Linked DNA regions of Homo sapiens: regions 1, 2, 3, 4, 5 and 6 are each linked to region 7. The links are contacts of gene promoters, found by promoter capture Hi-C in blood cells and fetal thymus (Javierre and others, 2016). All regions are on one chromosome and are shown on one strand. Each heading gives the region's core, a stretch centred on a gene start or on the middle of the fragment in contact. The rest is flanking DNA. Distances are from core to core; before and after follow the strand shown.

Region 1 (2,978 bases), core at 439-2,938, 1.9 Mb after region 7:
TTTTTAGTAGAGATGGGGTTTCACCATGTTGGCTAGGCTGATCTAGAACTCTAGTACTGGGTGCTGGTACTGGGTGTTTGTGAAAATTGGTCCAGTGGCACACCAAGGCTGTGTGGTCACACATACATGCATGATACACTTCTATACAAAATCTTACATAACTATACGAACAGAAAAAAAATGGCTCTTTTTTGTTTCTTTTATTGTCTTTATTTCCTTTTGATTTTTTATTGTGTGTTTTTTTCTTTTTTTTCCCATTGGTTCATAGCCGATGGCTTTACATTTTATCATCACTTCTTGTATCAAATAGCTTTTTGGCTGGGAACGGTGGTTCATGCCTGTATTCCAGGCACTTTGGGAGGCCAAGGCAGGTGGATCACTTGAGGTCAGGAGTTCGAGAACAGCCTGGCCAATATGGTGAAACCCCGTCTCTACTGAAAATACAAAAATTCGCCAAATGTGGCAGCGCATGCCTGTAATCCCAGCTACTTGGGAGGCTGAGGCAGGAGAATTGCTTGAACCCGAGAGGCAGAGGTTGCAGTGAGCCACTGCACTCCAGCCTCGGTGACAGAGTGAGACTTCAACTCAAAAAAAAAAAAAAAAAAGTTTTTTCTCCATGGTAACTATCAAAAATTAAAGAGATGATCATTTAAAAAGATTTTGATCAGCCAGGCGTGGTGGCTCACACCTTTAATCCTAGCACTTTGGGAGGCCAAGGAGGGTGGATCACTTGAGGTCAGGGATTCGAGACCAGCCTGGCCAACATGATGAAACCCCGTCTCTACTAAAAATACAAAAATTAGCCAGGTGTGGTGGTGGGTGCCTGTAATCCCAGCTACTTGGGAGACTGAGGCAAGAGAATCACTTGAGCCCGGGAGGTGGAGGTTGCAGTGAGCCGAGATCAAACCACTGCACTCCAGCCTGGGTGACAGAGTGAGACTCCATCTCAAAAAAAAAAAAAAAAAAAAAAAATCTTGATCAAGAACTATGTGCAGGAGCAATGATCAGGAACTATTTTTAACACAAAACTTGATATTTAAAAGAGACTCCAAGAAGAATGTTATCAGGAAATTTTACCCAAAGTTGATATTTAAATCTACCCCAAGATTTGCTTTTATTTTTCTTCTCATAATTATATGTCATTTATTTTTTTGTTTTTCTTTTTCTTTTTTATAAGAGTACCATATAAAGGAAATGTAAATAATTATTATCCATGAAGCTCCTTTTAGAATTATCCAAGCTCACGCAAGTTGATCCCAGTGAGTTGTACAGATATCCTTATTTTTTATGTTTACCAAGGTGGGACGAAGCTTAGGAAGCATGGCTGATTTAATACAATTTGCTTGTAAGGCCAGAACATCTGAACCTTGTGTATCTGGCTATATTCTAGTGTCTCGGCATCCTAAGATCACATCAGTTCCTGCCCCTCTCAGCTTTGGATTGACTTAGGTGTGCCCAGAATGGCCACTGCTTTCCTGGAGAGGACAGTGGGTGCCTTGCCCTGCCATTGGCTGGCCTTCAGAGTGAACTTACCTCCAAAGACAAAAATAGGAAGCTGACCACCTTAAAAACCGCTCAGTGGCTCCCCATGCCTACAGGATAAAGTCCCATACTCTTTAGAACAGCATACTACCCTGTCCTTCCCTTCAGAATCCTCTAAGCAAGAGGCAGCATCAAAAAAGAAGTACAGTTGGAAGTCAGGGCTTGGAGAAGAATCAACAAATGAAAACTAAGGGGAGGGAATGCAGTCATTTTCCTGTGTTTGAACAACATGGTCACACAATCTTTGTTCCACCTTCACTCACACAAGGGTGGGGACTTGAAAAAAATGCCTTCCTCACTGAGTGTGTAATTTGGCTTATGTTATTTGGGCTTGAATCATGGCCAGGTCCTGGCAGCTATCCTGGGAGAGCTGGGTTTCGGGTCACTTCTGTCTTAAAGAATAGTAAATCACTAGTACCCTAGCAGGAGGTATCAGTAGGAGGCACGGGTTTAAACTGGGCTTGATGGTGGGCATGAATGCAATAGGTCAAGGCAGAGGCTTCAGGCAATGATCAGAAGCTTGTCATCATTGGGGCTGAGAGAGAAGGAGGAGGTGGGAAGGAGGAGGTTTGTTTGGGAAGAAGGTGGAGGGTGTCAGCTGAACTGGCACCAGTGACTGATAAATTTATCAGTCTCAGCACTAAATGATTACAGAAACATCACACCACATGGCACCGCATAAAGCACCATTATGACTATTTTAAATGCAAGCAAGAAGGCTTGCCTTGTGTATGGCCCTGTAGTGGGCTCTATAGGCAGACAAGGCCACGAAATCCCACCTTCTTCAGGCTGAGGCTCTGAAGTCAGCACATAAGGAAAAAGTCAAAAACAGTTAAAACTACCCTTGAAAACATTTTAGGAAGGTGACATGTTGAAGAAAATAGATATTTTCTCAGGAACTCCAAAACAGCCAGTTTTTCTTCTGGTACTGGAATTAATCACCATGAATTCAATGCAGTATCTATATAAGTAATCTGAAATTCTGCACAGGTTTGTCTCTTCTCTCCCATTTAGTAACTGATTCAATCATTTGTTTCTATCAGTGTGGACTGGTGGGTATTTATTTTATACTTTGGGTTATAATCCAATATTACTTTATTTTGTTGCTCAGATGGCTCCCGCTTTGGCCGTTGGGAGATCTTTCAGCTCCTCTGCTTCTCTGACGGACCCTCATCAATGTGTGTTTTTCTTGTTTAGCACTTGTCTATTTTCTGACACTGCACAATATTCTGAGCTAATCTTGTATATTTCCTGCCCAAGTCTCAGAATCTGCCATTTCTCCAAGAATCCAAGGTTCTTTTTATTGTAGAATAATATTGGAATCCAAGATATAGGTCCTGGCATGCTTATTGCTACTGGGGCTTTGTTTCTTTTGGGCCCTCTCAGCTGACAAAGCACATAAATATATGTGTGTATACTTATCTGTGTATGTTACA
Region 2 (3,227 bases), core at 599-3,098, 1.3 Mb after region 7:
ATAAAAGCATTCCTATTTTAGGACAAAACTAAACAAAGGCCCAAAGACATATGAATATCTAAAATTGAAAAAGTTTATTTATCTTTGAATATATCACAAGTATACTCAACTGGCAATATTTTTTTTAATTAGGTAAAATGTACAAGGTGTATCTTCCCACAAATTAATGAAACTGATTTTGAACAAACAAAATTGACACACAGATACATTTTCTAAGTGATGCACTTTTCCAATGATGTCAGCATTACTCAAAACATTTTTTAGAATATAAACATATAATTGATTTTATAATTGCTGTCAGAAACAAAGGCACATTCTTTTACTGTCCCAGAACATTCAAGATGCTTTCAATTTATTACAAGTACCAAAAGCAGCCACAACTCAAATGGCTCAAGCAGTTAAAGGAATTATTCTTTCCCATAAAAGCGGTCCTGAGGTAGGGCTACAGTGGCTGAACTTCTGCTATGATAAGTATTCAGGGGTTTCCCAGGACACAGCATCAATGCTAAAACTGGCAAAATCCCAATGGACTGATCCCTTCAATGGATGACAGGACCCTCTATGGCTGAAAGACTCTAAAGTTCTTAGTTCTTAGCTGTGACAGGACAGAGAACCGACATGTCCCACCTGCAGCCACACCCATCCCCTTATTATTACTAGATCTTATCAAAAGCTGACTTGAAGAGGAAAAAAGGCCAAAAGACTTCTTTTCTTCACCTAACCGCCGATGCCCTCCTTTTGGTTTTATGGTTCCAACCTGACAGCTACTCTGGGCTACAAAGAGCCCCTTCTTGACAGATGACTGCCAGCTGCAGGCTAGATCAGACTGGTCTCTGGAGATTGCACAGATCGTGAACTTGTGCCCTATGTTTCACCTTTTTGCATTTACAGCCTAATTATAATACATTTAAATGTTAAATCTTCACCCCAGAGTGAACACAGGTCATCCGCTTTTGGATATTCTTCATATGTAAGCCCAGTGCGTGTCTCTAACGAGTTTCCTCCATGAATTTTCATAGGCTTCTCCTGTATGCTACAGAATACGTATATCCTACCTCTCCACCTAGCATAAATACCTACCTTTTCTCCTTCAAAGTATGCTTTATGGCCTCAGGTAGAGGCCTGCTTCCTGCCTGCAAGTTGTAACCTCTTAGAAATAGTTATATTTTGTTTATTTTGATTCTTTTCAGTCGACACATGCAAACAGGAACGAGTTGGCTACTTGAGGGTTGGTTCCTTGTGCATCTCAGTGAGTCTTGAAAAACCCCAGATCCGTCCTTCCTTCCTGCCGCATGTCATCCTAAGGCCAGTGTCTGTCAGGGAGGCAAGGCAGCAGCAGTACTTTTGGGAAACATCCAGAATAACATTAAAAAGCCCCTTTTTCCCCACACGTGTCTTTTATCCAGAGGGTCTGTTTTCCACAAGTTCTTCAGTGATTTCTCCCCAGTCTCATTGGCTGGGATTGGCTTTCACGCCTCTTAACAGGATTGACCATGGTTCATCAAGGGTCAACTTGAAAGCTGAACCCTGCCAACTTTCCCTGAATCTCCTGACTATGGTGGAGGAGTGTGGATCCTGGAACTAAACTGAGGTGATAGGGAGGAAAAGAGAGAAATCAACAGTAAACGCTGCACATCCTCTGTCTGGTAAATGTGCATCACTGATTGTATCCAATCTAGATTCAACCAGAGAGACGGAAGCATTAAGAATGACATAGAATATGGAATTTGCTATAGGGATTTGAGCTTCTACATTTGCGGGAAGGAGCGAGTTGAACACTTAGGAACAGCTGTTGCTGCCGTGTCTGGTGGGGGGCCTGAGAGTGGCAGGACAAGCAGCCTGCCCCAGAAGTGGAAGAAACTGAAAGTGGAGTCCTGAGAGCTGAATCTGCCGCAGGCCCGCGGGCCGCCCGGGAATTAGGAAAGTTAGAGGGGATCCACGCCCACAAGGTAAGCCAGCAGATGGGGACAATTCCCCGGGCTGCGACAGTCCCTAATGTCGGGCACCTACCTTTCAAGCCTACGAGACGACAACACTGCGTCACTTCCGCCTCACGAAGCCCGCATCAGGTCACGTGGCGTGTGCTAACCCCGGAAACCTACAGGCAAGGAATTCTGGGAAACGTAGTTCCCGCTTAGCTAGGTTGACATGGTACAAAGCCACATTACCACGCTAAGTGTGGCTTTGATTTTTAGAAACCGCCTCATGCTAAGTCTAGGGAATACAGTGGTTGAATGGGGTGAGCGCTGACCTTTAGCTATTCTGGAGGAACATGTCACTTTCACTTATTTTCTTTCATGTTTTCCCACCCAGTGCTATGGACTCTGATCGCCCAACCAGAGCAAACCCAGAAGGACAACTCTCCAAGCCTTTCAATCACTCCCACTAACCCGTATTGTGGACACACTATTGTGAGGCCTACTAAGGATGTACTGCTGATGACCTTTTGAAGGTAAGTCAAATGCAGTTAATCCTAAGAGGTTGGTTAGCCCCCTGCATCTTACTGAACACAGTAAATCAAAAGCGCTGTGCCCTTGAGACAAATATGATAAATTCCCTCTGCAGTTTTGAAATGTTTATCAATGCTAAACAAGGTAGGGGGATGTGGGGAGCATGAAAACAGAAAGACAAGGTCTGACAGACACATGGGAGAGATGTCTGTTTCAGAGGCTTAGTTCAAGTGGTTACTGTATTTAGGCTATTTAATTTAAAGGTGGTTACTGTATTTACATACACATCAGAGAAGTCCAAAATTTTAAAGTAAAGATCAGTTTGCAAAGATCTTGTCAAATTATTCGTTTTAAAATGAGGACCCTTATAACAACACAGGTACTTGAAAATATTTTGCTAATGAAAGAAGCTGGACACAAAAGATTACACCATGTACAATTTCATTTATATGAAGTTCTAAAACAGGCAAAACTAATCTATGGTGGGAAAAAAATCAGAATAGAGTTCACCTTGGGAGTTGGGGGTAGACTTAACTGGAAAGGGGCCTAAGGACACCTTCAGGGATAATGAGTGTATGCATTTGTCAAAATTCACCATAGGGGTGAAGAGCACTGATGTCTGCCACTTATTTGAAAAGCATCAAAAAATAAGATGGATTGATGGATGTATACAAGCGTAGGTAGACATATACATAAAACAAATACAGCAGAATATTAATTGCAGAATCTATGTGGCGAGTATATAGTTCAGCCCAGGTCTGAGTCATAGACAGATGG
Region 3 (2,964 bases), core at 408-2,907, 1.5 Mb before region 7:
ACTCAGAACCTTCCTTTTCACACATTCTCCAGGGGATTCTAACACAAGCTAAAGTTTAGGAGCACAAGCAGTAAAATAGTAAAAACTTTGTGTGTGAGTGTGTGTGTCTGTGTGTGTGTGTGTGAGAGAGAGAGAGAGAGAGAGATCCGAAGATAAGACAGGGGAAATATTAACATCAGTCAGATTAAGCTGGCGGGTACATGGGTATCGATCATTTCTGTTTGGGTAAAATATGAAATCCTTTTTTAAATTAAAAAATTTAAATTAATAAATTTTCTGAACTGATTTGGCCTCTCAACTTTTCCAGCCTTCAGCTCATCATGTGCACTCAAGCTGCAGGCCTGAGAAACACGTCTGGGAGTCGTCATCACAGGGGAAAGGAAAGGGCATGAGGACAGTCTTGAGTGTTGCCCTGTATCCTGGCTCAAGACTCAGAAGGATCAGCAAAGAGAAGGAAGGCAGGAAGGAAGGAAGGAAGGAAGGAAGGAAGGAAGGAAGGGAGGGAGGGAGGGAGGGAGGGAGGAAGGAAGGAAACAGGGATAAGAAAACAAGGCTGAGGAAGTCAAACAGAACTGAGAAATATGATTTTCTTGTTGGGTTGAAAACACAGTGTTTTGTGTAGATATATGTATGGGTGTATGGGTCTACCCAAAGGTTCTGCTTCTTTGTGGATAGACAAACTTTTTGTGGCTTTATGTCCTGTGCCTAATGTCAAAAGCCATCCTAATTTGTTCCAACTCTGGGCCCCGAGGGCCAGGGGTGAGTGACACAGGAGGGGAGTTTTCACAATTTGTTTTGTTCTGAATTGGCAGTCAGTTCCAACGAGAGGCAGAAAGGAATAAGATGAAGACTCACAAAAACTCAAATGTCATCTTCTTTTACTCCCTCTGTCTCTTAAACTCAACTCTGTAATCATGGGGAGAGCCAAACATTGCACATTGCCATCCTTTCAGCAAGCTCGTTCACTCTGAAAATGTCAGCTCAAGGTCAAAATCACTTCTGAGTCCTCAAAGACTCAATCCCAAAAGGCCGGTCTTCTAAGAGCAGGAGATCCCGAGTAGAAAGAAAAGACCACCCAGCCTCCCCTCTAAGTGCACAGTCCAGCTCCTGGACCACCTGCCCTGGTGGCCCACCAAGTCCCCGGGCTGCCTGCACTGGATCAGTGCCAGGGCGTTGGAACAAGTCCTCCTTTGAACAAAAAGACGCCTAACAGTACCATTGAACAGACACACTGCTAGGATCCCTGCACCCACTTCCTGTGAAAATTACTAGGATGTTTACATCAAAATCACAACAGCATTTAACTGGAGAGAAGGGGCAGAAAAAACAAATACGATGGTTCAATTGTCTTTTATTCTGCATTTCTTGCATTTCAGAACCAGAGAAAGTGGAGAGGAAAAGAAGAAGCACTTCTATATGCAGCTTAAACTTTAAAGATCATATTATTCAAGACACAGCTTTATTGGGGGAAAAAATAGGGATAAAACAAAGCCAGATGAACTTAATGCGAATGGGATGCTTTTATGGAATCACCAACGTTTCCATTGTTCAGCCTGAATTGCCCATATTTTTGTATTCACTGCAGACAATGAGTTCTTGTGACATTCTGGCATATATTATACTGGGGGAAGAAAACCCAACCTGCTTTATTTGTTCCATTTTCTGCTTTTAGATGTAATGGAAATGTTAACATGCTTAACATCCGTGGCCTCTCTTCCAGCCTCGCTTCACTTTTCGTAGTTATCATGAGTCTTAGTGAGGGTACGCGGTGCTTCCAGACAAGAGGTGGTGCATGCTAATGTAAGCTCAAAGCCAGCCTGCTCTATATCCTTCACCGTGCAAACTCTCCCTCTCATTCTTTTAAAGACTTTCACGGCATATAGTCTCCATTATGATTAAAATGATCTCAACTGTCCTTCAGAAAAGAATGTAAGGCTTTTGACTACGTGAACCAGTTCAAGGAAAATCTCCCAGGAGTCCAGGACATGAAGATCACATTGTCGAACCTCTTTTATAAGCATTCAATTCCACCTGGTTTTATAGCTGCCTCACTCCCCTCTCTGGATGGGTTTCTCTTACATTAATTGATAACACTATGTCTAATTTGAAGTTCACGCCAAAGGTGGGAGTTATATAAATAAACGATTTCAGCTTCATGAGAGTAGGAGAAGGCAAAAGTGCTCTCATATTTTTAAATCCTCTACAGGACTAGAATGACCATTCCATCTCAGTTGCCTGCTTTTCCAAAAAGGTGTGCATAAATTTCTTTCTTTAAAAAAATGTGTGCGGACGGGCTTGGTGGCTCAAGCCTATAATCCCTCAGGTGGATCTCCTGAGGTCAGGAGTTCTAGATCAGCCTGACCAACGTGGTGAAACCCTGTCTCTACTAAAAATACAAAAATTAGCTGGGTGTGGTGGTGGGTGCCGGTAATCTCAGCTACTCGGGAGGCTGAGGCTGGAGAATTGCTTGACCCCAGGAGACAGAGGTTGCAGTGAGCCAAGATTGCACCACTGCACTCCAGCCCGAGTGACAGAGTGAGACTCCATTTCAAAAAAAAAAAAAAAAAAGTGAACTGTTCAAACTCTACACATTTTTTTTTTTTGGAGACAGGATTACCCAGGCTAGAATGCAGTGGTACAATCACAGCTCCTGGGCTCAAGCAATCCTCCCACCTCAGCCTCCTGAGTAGGTGGGACAGGTGCATGCCGCCATGCCCAGCCAATTTCTTGTATTTTTTTTTATAGAGATGAGGTCTCACTATGTTGCCCAGGCTAGTCTTGAACTCCTGAGCTCAAGCAATCCTTCCACCTCAGTCTCTCAAAGTGCTGGGATTACAGGTGTGAGCCACTGTGCCCAGCCCACATTTTTTTAAAAGGGGAATTTTCACCTGGTAATAGATATTTTCCTGTATGGTTACCCTTTGGGCCTGTCTTTACTATTTCCATACTGTCACAAATCCCACC
Region 4 (2,832 bases), core at 226-2,725, 1.5 Mb after region 7:
AAATACAAAAATTAGCCGGGCATGGTGGCGGGCGCCTGTAATCCCAGCTACTCAGGAGGCTGAGGCAGGAGAATCGCTTGAACCCAGAAGGTGGAGATTGCAGTGATCCAAGATCACACCATTGCACTCCAGCCTTCCAGCCTGGGTGACAAGAGTGACTCTCCATCTCAAAAAAAAAAAAAAAAGATGCATCTTTATGATGGAGAATCCCTGTTTTTTTTTTCATTTGTTTTTCTTTTTAAGAGGCAGGATCTCTCTATGTTGTCCAAGCTGGAGTGCAGTGACTATTCACAGGTGCAATTCCACTACTAATCAGCACAGGAGTTCTGACCTGCTCTATGTCCAACCTAGGTTGGTCCATCCCTCCTGATGGTCCTCTGGTCCTGGGAACTCACCATATTGATGCAGAACTTTGGTATGACAGCAGGTCAGCATAGTGTACTATAGCCCAGAACCCCTGGGCTCAAGCAATCCTCCCTGCCTCAGCTTCCAGAGTAGCTGGGACTATGGATGCACGCCATCATACCCAGCTAAATCTGTATTTCAAGTGGTGCTTTTGAAAATTTTCTATTTTTTGCCAATTATTTGCCAATCTTATTAGATTATGTTATTTTACTACTTCATCTTGTACTGACCTAATGTGCTAATCGGAATAGAAGGGTCACCTCAGCCATTTTCTTGCTGTTTGCTTGCTTCTGCAGGGTAATAGCTATAAATATAACTAACACAGTAACATAGACTATGTCATGTTACAATACACTGCTAAAGAAAGGGTGAGAAACTTCCCTCTTTCTTCAGTTGCAATGGCAAGAGACCACCTGCTATTCAGATCCCAGCAGAGCACATCAATCCATTCCTGAAATATCAGTAATGCTTAATTTCTTTATTTTTAGGCTAAAATTTTTTAAATCTTTTCTTCTGTGCTGCTTTTCTTATAATGAACTATGTGTGTGTGACTTATTGTCCTTTGAGCCACTGCCTCAAAAGCTGAAATAGAAATAATCTATCCTGACATAGGCAGTAAACAATTGGGGGTTGGTTTGCTCATTTGCATTGCTTCAGAAAAAGCCTTTGGCTTTATTTGTTCTTTGAATAAATCAACATTACTTTCTTACAATATTGATATACTTTCTAAATTTTTCCCAAAGTATGTTTTAAAAAATAAAGGTCATGAAGTTATATCTATCATCAAAGTAAGGATTATATATTTTAGAAAATATGAGAAACATGAAAAAAAGAACAAAGGTAAGTACTTTAATATTTTAATGATTTCCTTTTAATATTGTATCTATTCATACATTTTAATTCATATTTGTTTTCAACTACTATAATAACATTGCATATAAATTTTTATAATAATATTGCATAAGAATTTTTTCATGTCATAACCTTTTCCTAAACACCTTTTAATAGATTCAGCTCATCAAGTAGACTGATTAACCATTCCATCTTGCTGGACATATGGCTTCTTTCAAAATTTTCACCTCAGTAAATAACAGTGTAGTGAAAATCTTCGTACACTAAAGCCTTTTCTACAGTTAGGATTATCTGCTTAGATTCTAGAATCACTGTCAAAGAATTTTGACAGTTTTATAATTATCTTAACATGAAACAAATTATGGCCCAAAGTCTATATATGACACAGAGACTGCTGTCTTATTTTGGAGCAGTTTTGTCCCCCCTCCAGGGACAAGTAGAAGGACTAGGAGATTCAAAAGGATTTTTTATTATAAGTAAATGGATCACCAAGGGAAAAAATCTGAGAATCACCACTTTGAACAAAAGATCAAAGGGCTGGAAAAGACTGAGATGTTTGGTCAATTTTTCTACCTACTAGTGGCATCAGACCTGAGATCTCTACTTCAAGAATTCATAACCTTTGAAGTTAACCTAGTTAAACCCAAACATTTTAGATCCTCTTCCAACACTGTTCACAGACATCAAATTTTAGCTGCTGACAATGAATGATGGGACATGGGGGTTATTGCCCTATTCCGTCTGTTAATATGTTTGAAATGTGCCATAATAAACTTTTAAAAATTAGATTATCACAGTACCCAACCTAAGGCATCAAAATGTGTTTGATCAAGCTGGGTGCAGTGGCTCATGCCTGTAATCCCAGCACTTTGGGAAGCCGAGGCAGGCAAATCACTTGAGGCCAGGAATTTGAGACCAGCCTAGTCAACATGGCAAAACCCTGTCTCCACTAAAAATACAAAAAAATTAGCCAGGCACAGTGGCGCGCACCTGTAAGACCAGCTACTCAGGACACAGAGGCATGAGAATCGCTTGAACCCAGGAGGCAGAGGCTGCAGTGATCAGAGATGGCACCACTGTACTCCAGCCTCGGCAACAGAGCAAGACTCTCTCAAAACAAAAACAAAACCAATTAGCCAATTGGAGAAATCTGATGGACTGGGCATCAAATGATATTACAGGGTTACTATAAAAAAAAATGTGTTTGACCAATCACATAAATTGAATATACCACATAGTAAAATGTGTGACTCCTAAGCTGGACATAGCGGTGGCGGCACACGCCTGTAGTCTAACTACTCAGGATGCTGAAACTAAAGGATCACTTGAGCCCAAGCGTTTGAGGTTGTAGTAAGCTATAATAGTGCCACTGCACTCCAGCCTGGGTGACAGAGCAAGACCCCATCTCTAAAACAAACAAACCATAAATGCATAAATTTAAAATAAATGTGAAGTCAACCAACTATTTTAAAATAAAATAAAATGTGTGACTCCTGATAATCTATGCTGTCCTGACCATAAAACAGGAAGTTAACATTTTAGAACCCCTAAAATAAAATGCCATTCAAACACAGC
Region 5 (2,973 bases), core at 71-2,570, 1.6 Mb after region 7:
ACAAAATAATTTCACCACCCTAGAAATATTTCTCATGCTTCACCTATTCAACTTTCCCTACCATCCCTGCCCTCACCCCGATCTTTTTAGTCTGTCTAGTTTTGCCTTTTCCAGTATGTCATATAGTTGTAATCATACAGTATGTAGCCTTTTCGGACTGGCTTCTTTTACTTAGCAATATGCATTTAAGATTTACTCATATCTTTTCATGATAGCTTATTTCTTTTTATAACTGAATACTATTCTGGTTTGTCTATCCATTCACCTATTGAAGGATACCTTGGTTGCTTCCAGTTTTTGATTATGAATAAAGCTGCTGATTACGAATAAAGCTGCTATAAATATTCATGTAGTTATGTGGACATGAGTTTTCAAATCAGTTGGGTAAATACTTAAGAGCTTGACCTTTGGACAATGTGGTAAGACTCTGTTTAGTTTTGTAAAAACTGCCCAGTTTTTTAACAAAAGGACTGAAAATTTTGCATTCTTAGCAATGTATGAGTGTTCATCTTGGTCTGTATCTTGTCAGCATATGGTATTACCAATTTTTAGATTTTAGCTATTCTAATAGGTGTGTAGTGGTATCTCACTATACTAAATTTTATTTTAATTTGCAGTTCTCTAATGAAAAATAATGTAGAGCATCTTTTCATATGCTTATCTGCCATCTGTATGTCTTCTTTGGTGAGGTTCAGATCTTTTGCTCATTTTTAGTTGGATTATTTGTTTTCATTGTGTGTTTTTTTTTTTTTTTCTTTTTTTGAGATGGAGTTTCGCTTTTGTTGCCCAGGCTGGAGTACAATGGTGCAATCTTGCTCACTGCAACCTCTGCCTCCTGGGTTCAAGCAATTCTCCTGCCTCAGCCTCCCAAGTAGCTGGGATTACAGACATGTGCCACCACGCCTGGATAATTTTGTATTTTTAGTAGAGACAGGGTTTCACCATGTTGGTGAGGCTAGACTTGAACTCCTGACCTCAGGTGATCCACCCGCCTTGGCCTCCCAAAGTGTTGTTTTCTTATTGCTGAATTTTAGGAGTTCTTTGTATATTTTGGAGACAAGTCCTTTATCAAATATGTGATTTGCAAATATCTTTTAGTATGTAACTTGTCTTTTCATTCTCTTAATGTGTCTTGCAAAGCAGAGGTTTTCAAAAAATTTTGATAAACTCCAACTTATTAACATTTTCTTTCATAGACTACTATTGGAGTTATAGTCCAAGAATTCATTAACAAAGCCAAGGTCATGTAGATTTTCTATGTTTTCTTCAAAAAGTTTTATAGTTTTGCACTTTACACTGAGATCTAAGATTATTTTAACCCTTAAAAGGACACAGAAGTTCACCAACGGATGAATGAACAAAAGGTGATATACATCTATACAATGGAATTTTAATTGGCAATAAGAAGGAATAAAGCACAATATGGATAAATCTTGAAAACATCATGCTAAGTCAAAGTAGTCATACATAAAAGACTACATATTCTATTATTCCATTTATAGGAACTGTCCAGAATAGGCAAATCTATAATAAAGGCAGAAAATAAATTATTCGTTTTTAGGGCCTATGGAAAGAGAGGCTGGGAAACAAATACTAGTGGCCACATTTGGGGGTGATGAAAATGTTCTAAAATTAGAACAGCGGTGATGGTTGCACAACTCTTAGCTTATAGTAAAAACCAGTGACTGTAAATCCAAAGATTTTACACTTTAAAAGGTTGAATGAATTCTGTAGTATGAATGATGAATTATATTTCAGCAGAGCTGTTATTAAACATAAAGATGTAGAAGGAGGACTGACAAAATGAGGCTACATGATAGGGTTTTATTATATGATTTTTTCTACCTTTGTATATATTTGAAATTATCCATTAAACAATGTGGAAGGGAAATGCTATTCTGATAAATAAAATCACTAATAAGCATCAAATTCTTATAAGTGATGTTATAATTCTTATAATTCTTGTTTTATTCAAAAATAAAAACTTGAAGCAACATATGTAAGCGGATATTTGAGGAAAGGTCTACTCACTGCCACAGACCTAACAGCTCTGAAATTATAAAATTTGAATTATAGCTGTAATTCTTATGAAATGTGTATTGAAGCAAACTTTATTCTAGGGGAATCTCAGTTCCTCTGATGTCTAAATCAGTGAGGTCAGGGGCAGATGTCCCCGAGGGAGCCAGCTCTGGAGCAGGGGTGGGGCAGGATGAGGAGCAGGAAAAACACACGTGTACTAGAAGAGAAGCTCCACCAAGGCAGGGATCTTTCTACGACTTGTTCATTAATGTATCCCAAGCACTCAAAACAGTGTCTGGCACACAGCAAACACTCTTTGTTGAATGAGAAAGCTAATATGTCGGGATAAAGTAAATTATCTTACACACCACAAAATCTAGGAAAAATGTTCACAGTTCCAAAGATTCTTCACTGAAGACAGTAAAGTAGTTTTAGATTTTTGAGTGGGTGAGTGAGACACCAAGAGCTAACTGTGTAGGGACAAGTCTAAGCAGCATCTCCAAACCAATCCAACATGAGCTAAATTTTTAAGTCTTTTTTGACCAGCTGTTCTAAATCATGACATAACTTCAAGAATAAAAACTTGAAGCAACATATGTAAGTGGGTATCTGAGGAAAGGACTACTCACTGCTACAGACTTAACAGCTTTGATAAGCTTTTTACTTTCCAGATTCTTCAGAATTTTGTTGATTTCTGTTAATGGCAAATTACTTTTATAGCGGATATCTCTGCTCCATATTCCTATAAGAAAGTAAAGTAAAATAAGTTGAACTCTGGTTTTCATGGATTTTTAATGTTATTCCTCTAACTTGTGTCTCATTCCAAAGCTAGCAGTATAAAGCTAACAGTAAAGAATGCTGGCTAAAGTAGCAAAAGTATGCTAAACAATAAATAAGTATAATGCTTTGTAAGACTTATTATAATGATTTATAATTTCTAACTAGAAATTTCTT
Region 6 (2,959 bases), core at 202-2,701, 1.8 Mb after region 7:
TTGCTGCTGTCAAGTATGTTGTTAACAGGGTATTAATACTTTGGCAGAGCTACCAACTCATCAGTTCTAACCACAGATGATTCTGTATCAAAAAGAAATTGAAGTGACTCTGATAGAAACAAATCATGTGAGAATGATACAAAAAACAACATGGAGATGTAGAACTGGAAACCTGATAACTTGGCTAATATTTGTGTGGTCATCCAATCATTTTAGGCAAAGAAAAGAGCAAAAGAAGAGACAGTAAAAGGAAAAGATTCCATTTACAGCAGCACCTGCTTAGAAAATAATAAAGCAATGCCATCTCCCCTCAGCTATATCTGTTAAGAACTCTAAACTTTGAGTGACCCTAGTAGGGCAAAACTACTTGGCTGTAACTCAATAATTTTTCCTGACCTCTGAAAAATAGAACCTTTTAAACCAATTATGTAACAGTACTATGGATTCATTCTGACCTATCCAGAGTGCTAGTTTTTAATCCATAATGAACACAGCCACAATGAAACTCTACCTCCTAACATTTAAAAACACTGAAATTTCCCCCTCAGTGAACAACTTGTGAAACTTTTTCAGTGGTGTGTGTAGTAACTCAACCTTTTCACTTCTTTTCTTAAGCCTTGGTAGTTTTTGTTTTACATTAGAAACAAAACAAGAATACTATGTATGAAAACCAAAATTCTGATCATAGCAAATCCATTGTATTTAATGACTTTATCATTGAAATAAAAAATTTAAGAGGTAAGGAAACAAAGTCTTCAACCCAAGCTTGAAAAAATATAGCAAAAAGAAACACAAAGGCATAAATGAATACATTGGAAAGCAGTGAAACTGTGATAATACTTGTGAAGCGATTTGGGGCTCAGTACCTGTTGGCCAGGATTCATTATTGCTGCTTCCTTATTCTCCTCCAATGTATGTTCCATTTCACCTTGTTCCTGGCAGCTTCTCACAAGCTCTATTGCAGTTTTTTTTTTTGTTTTTTTGTTTTGTTTTGTTTTGTTTGAGACAGAGTTTTGCTCTTATTGACCAGGCTGGAGTGCAATGGCACAATCTCGGCTCACTGCAACCTCTGCCACCCAGGTTCAAGCAATTCTCCTGCCTCAGCCTCCCGAGTAGCTGGGATTACAGGCACCTACCACCATGCCTGGCTAATTTTTTTGTGTGTTTTTAGTAGAGACAGAGTTTCACCATGTTGGCCAGGCTGGTCTCAAACTCCTGACCTCAGGTGATTGACCCAGCTCAGCCTCCCAAAGTGCTGGGATTACAGGTGTGAGCCACCGCACCCGGCTGCTCTATTGCACTTTTTTTTTTTTACTGATAGCGTGATTTACCTGTTTAAAGAAACATGCCTTTGGGTAGTTTATTTTTATATTTAAATATATTTTTATTTTTATATATTGAAATGGTTATTTTTTTAATTTAGAAAGAAATACTTTTTTGTAAATTTTAAACCTTTTATTTGAAAATAATTTCAAACGTAACAAAGTTGCAGGTGCAGTACATGTAACACTGATGCAGTACTTTTAATAACCTATCATCGGTATTCTAATTTGACAATTGACTTGATAATGTGTTTTATAACTTTTTTTTTTTTTTGCGTTCTAGTATGGGATCCAGCCTAGGATTAGGTTTAGTTGTCATGATTCTAGTATCCTTTAACCTGGAATATTTTTCTTAGGGTTTGTTTTTCTGTCTTTTAAGAACAGGGTCCTCCTTTTTGGTAGCTGAATGTTTTATTTGGGGGTTGTGTGAGGGATATCACATTTGGTAGTGCCTGATTTCTGCCTTGTACAGTTACTATTTTTTTCGTTTCTAAGACCATCTCTGAGGAGACAATTTAAGACTGTGCATCCATTAATGATTCTTGCCTAGACTAGTTTTTACCCTAATAGTTACAAAGCTGTAATTTCCAATGCCAACACTCCCTCCATATTTTCCAGTCAGCACTAGGCATTCAGGTAGGATGCTATTTTATGAAAGAAAATACAGTATTCAGGTAGCAGTGAGAGAAGGACAGGCAAATCACTGATCCTAGTGTCACCAGAGCTATTCAGAGGTGCAGAGAGCTGTGAGAGCTTGGAGAAGGGAATATGGGGTGCAGAGTGGCAGAAGGCAAGGTTGGGGCTACATAAGCTTCCTCACCTGCCTGGCCAAGGTGTCTTGACTCGATTTTGCATGTGGCTGAGCTTATAAAATCATAACAACACAAAACCTACCAGCTGAGAAAAGAAACCTTATCAATTTTTAAAAATTTAAATATGGTAGTTCCCCTCCCCTGCCATCCATGGGGGGTTACATTCAAGACTGGTTGCCTGAAACCTTGGATAGTACCAAATCCCACATACTGTACATATGTTTTTTGCTATACAAAAAAACTGAAGATATGGTTTAATTTATAAATTAGGCACAGTAAGAGATTCATAACTAATAATAAAGTAGAACAACTATAACAATATACTGTAACAAAAGTTGCGTGGATGTGGTCTCCCGAAATATCTTATCGTACTGTACTCGCCTATTTTCAGACCGTGGTTGCCCCTGGGTAACTGAAACCTCAGAAAGTGGAACTGTGAATAAGGAGGACTACAGTGCTGCATCCACGTGTCCATATATTTAGTATTTTTAGAATAGATTGTCCATAAGTTAATTTTTTTTACCATATTCATAATTGAGGAAGTCTGAGCATTGCGTTAATATTTTTTAATGACAATAAAACCAGTAGCACTGAGGGCAGATCCTAAAGAATGAAGAAATTAAGGGCAATAAGGAAGACGAAGAGAGTCAGGGATGACTTGTAGCTCTGGTAAAGACAAGAGAGCTTTATTATCAGTGGCAACAGGGAGCCATTAGAAAACCATCTAATGTAGACCAGAGCTTCTCAAACTTCAGTATTCTGGGGATCTTGTTGTGATGCAGATTCTGATTCAGAGGCCCTGAGCTTTCTAGTAAGGAGGATGCT
Region 7 (2,890 bases), core at 189-2,688:
CAAAGGCAACAGATGATTAAACCAATGATTCATTTGGTAAATCAATTGTTTACAGTAACACATTTAAGGAAAATCACTTCAAAGAAACATCTTTTTAATATTTATTTATTTTGTTAGGTGGCTTTATGAAAGTGATATAAAATCTTCTCTATTTAAATTTTGAAAAGTGAGATAAAATATCTAAATAATATGGTTAATAAAGAGTTATGGCAAATACATTGATGTTGGTTATAACTGACTGCAGTTCTAGAAATCTGCATAAATCTTTTGTTGAAAGTAATATCTGCATTGGTAGACGTGATATTACTACATACATAAATATATATTTTCCCCAAACACCAAAAGAGCTTTGCAACTGTGGAAATTATCCTAACAAATGAGCTGCCAAGTCATGTCATTATACATTTGTCCAACCTCATAGAATGTACACCAAGAGTGAACCCTAATATAAACTATGAACTTTGGGTGATAATGATGTGTCAATGTAGGTTCAAGATTGTAACAAATGTACTGCTCTGGTGGAGGATATTTTTAAGAGTTGGAGGCTGTTAGAGGAGGGAAGAGGTACAATAATTGATAGCAGGAAGCTGTGGAGGGAGGAAATCTCTGTGTCTTCCACTTAATTTTGTTGTGAACCTAAAACTTCTCTAAAAATGTCTATTAAAAAAAATTCTCTTAACCTTTGCTTTTCAGTTTTTGAGGGCAGGTTAAGTATTATAACAGCTAACATCTACTGAGCATTTGTCTTTAATCCTAGTGAAACAGATGTTATTAGCCTTGTTTTATAGTTGAGGACATTGAGGCTAAGAAAATTTAACTAGAGTAATTAAGGCACACACAGAATTTAAACATGTTTCTTATCACAAGACTGAGTTGTTTTCCAGTTACTCTATTTATATTTTTTCCTAATATCTGGCTTCAAAGTACCTTCTGTTATTTTTAATTCCAAGCCTTAGAGTTAATTATTTGGGCACCTTAGAATTATTTGGGCACAACTGTCCCGAAACCAGAAACGAGGGGGCGTGGACCCAGAGACTACTAGAATGCAATGCTCGAGGCATTGCAGCCTAAAAGGGCGGCAGCTCGCCCCGTCGCATGCTGGGAATGGTAGTTTCCTCGCTCTCCCTTCTTCCCCCGCCCTCGAGCATCCAGATTGGAGCTCCGTTCTTACTCCCTTGCAGGGCGCCACGGCTCGACAGAGCCACTCGTCCTCGCCTGGTCATCCCAGTTCCGGAGGCTGACCTGGGGATGCGCCCTGGACGCCCTGCACCGCAGTCCTTGCGTCGCTGCTAGTCAGCACGGCGTTACCCACCTCATCCGCAGCTCCAGGACGCCGCACTCCACGCGCTGCCGCAAGGAGGACGCGCAGCCTGGTCACCATGGAAACGGTGCCGCCTCCGTCACGGCTCAAGCGAGAGGTCAAAGGTCAGTCCTGCAAGTTCCGCTTCCGGTTCCGAGATCCTGTTTGTTTTCTGAAAGCTTTGTGGTTTCGGTGAGCTCTCAGAGCCGATTTCTAGCGTCCGTGCCGGGGACAGGTGTCCAGAGGTCGACTGCTGCAGACATGGCGGCCTCCACCGCGGCCGGGAAGCAGCGGATTCCCAAAGTGGCCAAGGTAGGCGATCGCGAGGGGCCTTGTAGGAGGTGGCCTAGGAAAGGGGCATCCCTCAGCCCTGAGGGTGCCCGGGTTGGGAGAGAGTGTTCCCGCCGGGGAGAAGGCTCACCCTGAGAGATGGAGAGGAAGGGCAGCTGGTGGTGGGGCGCGGGCTCTTGTCATCGCGGAGCACGACCCGCGTTGGCGTGGCCTTCGTTCTGGGGTGGTTTTGCTGGGGAGTGGAGTGGGGTGGTTCGGTGAAGATTTACTGAGCCAGGCACTGCACTGGGCGCTGGGAAGCTACGCTCGTACGCTGGCCACAAGCAGTACTCAAAACACGAGTTTCTGTATAAAGACGACCTTGCTAGATGTTACCGAGAGGCAAAGTAGAATATGCCATGGGCGTGAATAAGGGGGTCGTATGAAGGGGTCCTGAAAGTAAATTTTGCTGAGGAAATGACCTTTAAGCTGAGACTTGAAGGCTGAATAGGAGTTAGCCCAGCTGACAGCGGAGGGCGAGAGTAGACGGTAGGAGTAGTATAGTATCATAAGTTAATTAAACAGTAGACTTACTATCTGGTATTTCCTTTGATAGCTAATACTTACCAAGTGCTTAATATGTGGCAGACTTTGAAGCCTTTACAGATACCCTCCCTCCAGTCTTTCTTGAGCCCGGATGACTCTCTTGAACTGGACCTTTACATAACTATTTGTCTGACTCGCAGGAGTAATGCATATAGAGCAAGTAACACTGTGTCTGGCACTTAGTGCTTATTAAATATGAGCTATCACCATTATCATCATTACTCCACATGTGGCATTAAGTAACATTTTTTATAATTCAGCTACATAAACTTTTATTGGGCATCACTGGTCCAATGGAAATATAATGCACACCACATATGAAATTTTAAATTTTCTCATATCTACATTAAAAAGTAAAAACAAAGCAAAAAAGTGAAATTAATTTTGATAATATATATTTTATTTGAGCTAATGTATCCAAAATATTATCATTTCAACATGTAATCGGTATAAAAAATGTAATGAGGTAGTTTATTCTTTTTTATACTTCATCTTCAAAACCAATGTGTATTTTACACTTACAGTCCACCTCAATTTGTACTCACCACATGTGACTCATAGCTACTGTGTTGGACAGCACAGCTCTAAGCTACGTTAGACTGTAAGCTTCTAAGACCTCAAGAAGCTTACAGTCTAATGATGAGAACTTACTGAAATTGCCTTTGACTTGAAGTGCCATGTAAAACCAAACCCAGTTATACACCGGGGCATTAA

The links. Contacts are between HindIII fragments. The CHiCAGO score rates a contact against its expected background, and 5 or more counts as called.
Region 1: a fragment that was not itself captured here is called in contact with the fragment with the promoter of CRNKL1 in region 7 in 3 of 17 cell types (naive CD4 T cells, non-activated CD4 T cells and activated CD4 T cells); the score reaches 9.2 in naive CD4 T cells.
Region 2: a fragment that was not itself captured here is called in contact with the fragment with the promoter of CRNKL1 in region 7 in 1 of 17 cell types (total CD4 T cells); the score reaches 5.2 in total CD4 T cells.
Region 3: a contact is called between a fragment that was not itself captured here and the fragment with the promoter of CRNKL1 in region 7, in 1 of 17 cell types (total CD4 T cells). The highest score is 5.6, in total CD4 T cells.
Region 4: a fragment that was not itself captured here is called in contact with the fragment with the promoter of CRNKL1 in region 7 in 1 of 17 cell types (total CD4 T cells); the score reaches 6.3 in total CD4 T cells.
Region 5: a fragment that was not itself captured here is called in contact with the fragment with the promoter of CRNKL1 in region 7 in 1 of 17 cell types (naive CD4 T cells); the score reaches 6.3 in naive CD4 T cells.
Region 6: a contact is called between a fragment that was not itself captured here and the fragment with the promoter of CRNKL1 in region 7, in 1 of 17 cell types (naive CD4 T cells). The highest score is 5.4, in naive CD4 T cells.

Annotation. Positions count from the first base shown.
Region 1 is chr20:18,133,029-18,136,006 of GRCh38, reverse strand. No RefSeq gene overlaps it. Among named protein-coding and RNA genes, the nearest start is that of KAT14, 3.3 kb to the left of the region's middle. The HindIII fragment of the contact is 751 bases long and covers 1,313-2,063 here.
Region 2 is chr20:18,792,890-18,796,116 of GRCh38, reverse strand. LINC00652 (long intergenic non-protein coding RNA 652) reads left to right here and starts at 1,533. Exons shown (of 4, transcript NR_026883.1): 1 at 1,533-1,949; 2 at 2,314-2,452. LCDR (lysosome cell death regulator) reads right to left here and starts at 2,068. Exons shown (of 1, transcript NR_026885.1): 1 at 52-2,068. RefSeq lists an enhancer at 1,853-2,392. The HindIII fragment of the contact is 9,609 bases long and covers 1-3,227 here.
Region 3 is chr20:21,553,361-21,556,324 of GRCh38, reverse strand. No RefSeq gene overlaps it. Among named protein-coding and RNA genes, the nearest start is that of LINC01727, 15 kb to the left of the region's middle. The HindIII fragment of the contact is 4,582 bases long and covers 1-2,964 here.
Region 4 is chr20:18,590,029-18,592,860 of GRCh38, reverse strand. All of the region lies in intron 1 of DTD1 (D-aminoacyl-tRNA deacylase 1), which reads right to left. It also overlaps the pseudogene RN7SL638P. Among named protein-coding and RNA genes, the nearest start is that of DTD1, 3.4 kb to the right of the region's middle. The HindIII fragment of the contact is 3,622 bases long and covers 1-2,832 here.
Region 5 is chr20:18,474,863-18,477,835 of GRCh38, reverse strand. POLR3F (RNA polymerase III subunit F) reads right to left here. Exons shown (of 9, transcript NM_006466.4): 5 at 2,649-2,761. Among named protein-coding and RNA genes, the nearest start is that of MIR3192, 5.7 kb to the right of the region's middle. The HindIII fragment of the contact is 2,714 bases long and covers 1-2,677 here.
Region 6 is chr20:18,279,912-18,282,870 of GRCh38, reverse strand. LOC124904876 (a long non-coding RNA gene) reads right to left here. Exons shown (of 3, transcript XR_007067544.1): 3 at 2,800-2,959. Among named protein-coding and RNA genes, the nearest start is that of ZNF133, 7.1 kb to the left of the region's middle. The HindIII fragment of the contact is 1,368 bases long and covers 768-2,135 here.
Region 7 is chr20:20,051,014-20,053,903 of GRCh38, reverse strand. It overlaps CRNKL1 (crooked neck pre-mRNA splicing factor 1), which reads left to right and starts at 1,438. Exons shown (of 14, transcript NM_001278628.2): 1 at 1,438-1,612. The coding sequence starts at 1,562. It overlaps CFAP61 (cilia and flagella associated protein 61), which reads right to left and starts at 1,372. Exons shown (of 27, transcript NM_015585.4): 1 at 1,313-1,372. RefSeq lists a silencer at 964-1,013 and enhancers at 1,104-1,403, 1,414-1,583. The HindIII fragment of the contact is 2,238 bases long and covers 1-1,481 here.